Linked DNA regions of Homo sapiens: region 1 is linked to region 2. The links are contacts of gene promoters, found by promoter capture Hi-C in human tissues and cell types (Jung and others, 2019). All regions are on one chromosome and are shown on one strand. The core of a region is centred on a gene start or on the middle of the fragment in contact, and the rest is flanking DNA. Distances in the headings are between cores, read along the strand shown. Region 1 has its middle 6.7 kb from the start of NRAL. Region 2 holds the start of HOXD4 (homeobox D4).

What was found. The method cuts DNA at HindIII sites, captures the fragments that hold promoters and counts their contacts. A contact is called where the count stands out against the background at its distance.
Region 1: a contact is called between a fragment that was not itself captured here and the fragment with the promoter of HOXD4 in region 2, in 1 of the 25 tissues and cell types used here (H1 embryonic stem cells).

Annotation. Positions count from the first base shown.
Region 1 is chr2:176,513,056-176,515,755 of GRCh38, reverse strand. No RefSeq gene overlaps it. Among named protein-coding and RNA genes, the nearest start is that of NRAL, 6.7 kb to the right of the region's middle. The HindIII fragment of the contact is 6,248 bases long and covers 1-2,700 here.
Region 2 is chr2:176,150,155-176,152,854 of GRCh38, reverse strand. It overlaps HOXD4 (homeobox D4), which reads right to left and starts at 1,305. Exons shown (of 2, transcript NM_014621.3): 1 at 789-1,305; 2 at 1-247. The coding sequence starts at 1,221. MIR10B (microRNA 10b) reads right to left here and starts at 2,552; the gene lies at 2,443-2,552. It also overlaps a transcript of HOXD3 not described here. RefSeq lists an enhancer at 853-1,586. The HindIII fragment of the contact is 6,191 bases long and covers 1-2,700 here.

The DNA of each region.
Region 1 (2,700 bases), core at 150-2,649, 360 kb before region 2:
GTTGCCAAAGATGTTGAGCAACTGGAAATTTCATATGCAGCTAGTGGAAATGCAAAATGGTGTGGCCATTTTAGAAAGTAGTTTAGAAGTTTCTTGTAAAATTAAACACAGACTTACCAGACAACTCAGCAATCCCACTTTTTCGTACTTACTCAATAAAAATGAAAACACATATTCATACAAAGACTTATGCTGAAATAATTATAGTAATTTGTTCATGATAGCCAAAAACTAGAAATCACACAAATGTCTATCAAGTGGTGAATGGAGAAACAAAATATTTATGTATCCACATAATGAAATAGTTCTCAGCAATAAAAAAGGAACTTACTGATACTGGCAACATCATGGATGACTATCAGAAGCACTGTGCCAAGTGAAAGAAGCTAGACACAAACAACTATACACTGCTTGATTCCATTTACAGTCGTGCATTCCATACTGATGATTTTGTCGTTGTGGGAACACCACAGAGCGCACTTACACAAACATAGATGGTACAGCCTACTACACACCTATGCCAAATAGTATAGCCTATTGCTCCTAGGTTACAAGCCTGTACAGCATATTACCGTACTGAATACTGGAGGCAATTGTAACATAATAAGTATTTGCATATCTAAACATATCCAAACATAGAAAAGGTACAGTAAAAATGTGGTGTAAAAGAAGAAAATAATAATACATCTGTATAGCGTACTTACCATGAATGGAGCTTGCAGGACCGGAAGGTGCTCTGGGTGAGTCAGTGAGTAAGTCATGAGTGAATGTGAGGGCCTAGGACATTACTGTAGTATACAGTATATGTAGTATATGTATACTGTAGTATACAGTATATGTAGTATACAGTATAATGTAGTATACAGTAGTATACTGTAGACTTTATGAACACTGTACACTTAGGCTACACTAAATTTATTTTAAAAATCTTTCTTCAATAATAAATTAACTTTAGCTTACTTCAACATTTTTACTTTATAAGCTTAAAATATTTTTTAACTTTTTGACTGTTTTGTAAAAACACTTAGCTTTAAACACAAACACATTGTACAGCTGTATGAAAACATTTTTTCTTTATATTCTTATTCTATAAGGTTTTTTCTATTTTTATTTATTTATTTTTTACTTTTTTGACAAAAACACAAATATACACATTAGTTTAGGCCAACACGGAGTTAGGATCATCAATATCTCTGTCTTCCACCTCTACATCTTATCCCACTGGAAGATTTTCAGGGTCAAAAACATGCAGGGACCTGTCATCTCGTATGATAATAATGCCTTCTTATGGAATGCCTCATGAAGGACTTGCCCGAGGCTGTTTTACAGTGAATGTGGGTGTTTTCTTTTAATAAATAAAAGGAGTATACTCTAAAATAATGACAAAAAGTACAGTATAGTAAATACTAAATGATAGAAATGTTTCGGCTCCGTTATAATCTGTCATAGAGGTGGCCCATCCTTGACTGAAATGTCTTCAGATGGCGCATGACTACATATAAAATTCTACAAAAAATGAAAGTGGGAGTAGGGAGGGAATTGCAATGGGATACAATAGAATATTTTGAGGTGGTGGCAATTTTCTATAATTTTCATTGTGGCGTCGGTTATATGGCTACATACATTTGTCAAAACACATTGAACTGTACCTTAAAATTGGCCCATTGTCAATGTAAATTATATCTCAATGAAAAATGTTAAGGTCAATTTCTCTTGTCTATTGACTGATAAAGCACTGCACTGGGCTCTTTAGATTATTTCTGTGTCACATACACTCATGCACCGTATAATGACGTTTCATCCAATGATGGCCCACATATACAGTGGTTGTCTCATAAGATTATAATGGAGCTAAAAAATTCCCATCACCTAGTATTTACTAGAATATACTTTTGTCATTATTTTAGAGTGTACTCCTTTGACTTTTAAGAAAGTGTTAACTGTAAAACAGCCTCAGGCAGGTCCTTCAGGAGCTATGAAGAAGGCGTTATCATCATAGATGACAGCTCCATGGGTGTTACTGCCCCTGAAGACCTTCCAGTGGGACAAGATGTGAAGGTGGAAGACAATGATATTGATGATTCTGACCCTGTGTCGGCCTAGACTAATGTATGTGTGTGTGTGTGTGTGTGTGTGTGTGTGTGTGTTTGTGTGTGTGTGTCTTTATTTTTAACTAAAAAGTTCAAAAAACCAACAACACATTTTTAACAGGAAAGAAGCTTATAGAATAAGAACGTAAAGAAAGAAAATATTTTTGTAAAGTGTACGATGTGTTTCTGTTTAAAGCTAAGTGTTATTACAAAAGAGCCAAAAAGTTTTTAAAATTTTTAAAGTTTATAAAGTAAAAAAGTTACAGTAAACTAAGGTTAATTTATTTTTGAAGAAAGTTTTTTATGAATTTAGTGTATCCTGGGTGTACAGTGTTTATGAAGCCTACAGCAGTGTACAGTAATGCCCTAGGCCCTCGTAGTCCCTCACTACTCACCAACTCATCCAGAGCAACTTCCAGTCCTGTGAACTTCATTCATGCTAAGTGCCCTGTACGAGTGTACCATCTTTTTTCTTTTACACCATATTTTTTACTGTACTTTTTCTATGTTTGGATATGTTTAGATATGCAACTACTTATGTTACAATTGCCTCCAGTATTCAGCATCCTGTACAGCTGTAGAGATTTGTAACCTAGGAGCGATAGGCTAT
Region 2 (2,700 bases), core at 56-2,555:
GAAGATGAGGACGATGACCTGCCTTTAGTGTTGGGCAGCTTATGATCTTTTTTCCACTTCATCCTCCGGTTCTGGAACCAGATCTTGATCTGGCGCTCCGACAGACACAGGGTGTGAGCGATTTCAATCCGACGGCGCCTTGTCAGATACCTGTTAAAATGAAATTCTTTTTCCAGTTCTAGGACTTGCTGCCGGGTGTAGGCCGTTCGGGACCGCTTGGGTTCCCCACCGGTGTAGTTGGGGTTCACTGCGAGACAAAACAGACAGGACAGGCAGGTCAGCGCCCGGCCACTAGTTAGGCCCCTCGCCTCCGCCGCTCACTTCCTGGCGCGCCCCGAGGCCCGCGGCCCTCCCCGCGCGCTCCCAAGCTCGCTTGCTTCCTCCCTCCCGCCCTCTCCCCGGCGCACACGCTCACTCCCACCCACCTCCTCAAACACACCCACATACCCCAGGCTTGCGGGATCCCCAAATGTGCTCCTTCTTCTGGGCCCACCACCAGGTCCGGAACCCTCAAGCATTTTGGAAATCCCCCGCTCCTCCACAGCCTTCCCCCTGCTCTGAAAATGGAGTCCTCCCCCACCCCCCCATCCCCACCCCCTTTTGCGCCCACAGCCGAGCAGCCAGCCACATGGTCCTGACCTGCTCCCTCAGCTATAAAAATTTATGGGGAGAGTAATTGCGGCGCCCATGGAAGCTCCACACGCCCCCACCTACTCGCACCCCCTTCCAGAGGACCCAGGCTAACGGGCTGGGATGTGGACAGAAAGGTTACTGGACCCTAGCCTTACCCGAATTCACGTGCACCTTCTTCATCCAGGGGTAGACCACGGCCGGCTGCTTGAGTGCCGTCCCGGAGGGCGGCTGCTTGGGGTCGGACTGACTGTAGGCCCGGGCGCCAGGCAGGGGCGCCGGCGGAGGCGCCGGGGGAGCTGGGCAAGGCTCTCCTGGAGCGGCGTAGTGACCGCCGGGGCCGCCTGGCTCTTGTCCGTGACCCCGCGCAGGCAGCGCCGAGCCAGGCCCGGGGCCGCTGCCTCCGAAAGGCTGCTCACCGAAGTCGGGCCGTGGGTAGAGCCCCGGGGGCTGGAAGTCTGCGCCCTGCGCGCCGCCGCCGTAGTAGTCGGCGCCCTGCTCGCCTAGGTAGCCGCCCTGCAAATACTCCTCGCACGGAGGGAACTTGGGGTCCACATACTTGGAGTTCACCATATACGAACTCATGACCATTAATTTCAGAAGGTAGAAAATACTAATTTTTCTCGTGTTGTCTTTTTTTCTCCTTCCATAGGGCCCTCCTACTTGCTGTCAACTGAATAAAGTTGGGCAGCCATGTGACCAGGCCAGCCAATGGCGAGGGAGCAAGTTTATCACCGGGTTGGTGAGCATCTCATAATTTTCACAAATTTAACTAAATAACATACGTGTAATCAAGTAGCTTGCTATGGCACATTTGAGAGCCCCTGCCAGATATTAATGTAGTTCCAGTCCCCAGCACCCCATTCCCCTCAGGTAATCCCAGCTTTTGTCTGCCACTGATTTTGCCAACCTTCCGTGGCCCTTCCACTCACCCCCAGCTGAATGCAACCCCCGCCCCCCGACACCAAGTAGGCACAGCTCAAGGGAGAATGAATCCTCCTATTGGGGTACAGAGCAATGAAAGGTGGGTGGGTGAACTCGCCTCTGAGTTGGGCAGAGTGCCCCAGGCGAGGAGGGTTCCTGCCTGCCCGCCCTGCCTGCAGCCGGCGGGAGCAGGGATTCTGCCATACAAAGGCCGCCGTCCTGGCTTTGTCTTCATCAGGGTCACCCAAAAGTTACCAGAATCTGGCCAGCTTGAATCAAATTAGGCAATGAGTAACCGCCATGCTTTCTACCAGTGCCCAGGCCCGGGGGTTCCCAGCCAAAGCTGGGCCCTGCCAAAATAGCAGGGGGCCCTCGCTGCCCTTGCCCATGTAGCTGGGGGTGGGCTGGGATGGTGGCAAGGGCACCTCCACCTTGTCAAAATGCACCCTAGAGCTCCCCACTGGGCTTCTTTGAAGCTTGCTTTCTTCCCACAGGCCCCAAATACAAGCAAGCCCCCATTTGGGTACCTTTGCACCTCATGTTCCTGGAGGGCAGAGCTGGGACTGGGCAAGCTGGCCTTGTACCTCACTCCCTAGTACCCCAAAACCTAGCCCTTTGGCCCTGCATCCATGCAACCAATTAGGCTTGCATTCTCTCTTTCTCTCTCTCTCTCTCTTTCTCTCTTTCTGTCTTTCTTTCTTTTCAGCACCCAGAGGATACTCTGTTTAAAGGTGAGGAGCTTCTGGAGAGGAAAAGCTGCTCTATGTCACCAGGCGCAGCTGATCCTCCTGGAGTCCAAGGTAATAAAACAGAACGAGGCGGCTGACCAGCGCCGGCTGCTTCTAGTCTCCATGTCGCACTTTGGTCTCTGGCTATTCCGAAGAAACGTGAAGTTTTTGCATCGACCATATATTCCCCTAGAATCGAATCTGTGACTATACGGATACCACACAAATTCGGTTCTACAGGGTATATATAGACAACGTTACAACCTCTGGGTCCCACCCAGAGTGAGGTACCTAGGTCGCTGCCGGCCCCAATCTCTTCCTCTGAGCCACCACCGTTCGACGCAGCCACCCGCACTTTCTGAGACAGTTCAGGTAGCCTAATGGGCTTGGCGACAATTTGAAGCAATGAGTTCCCTCA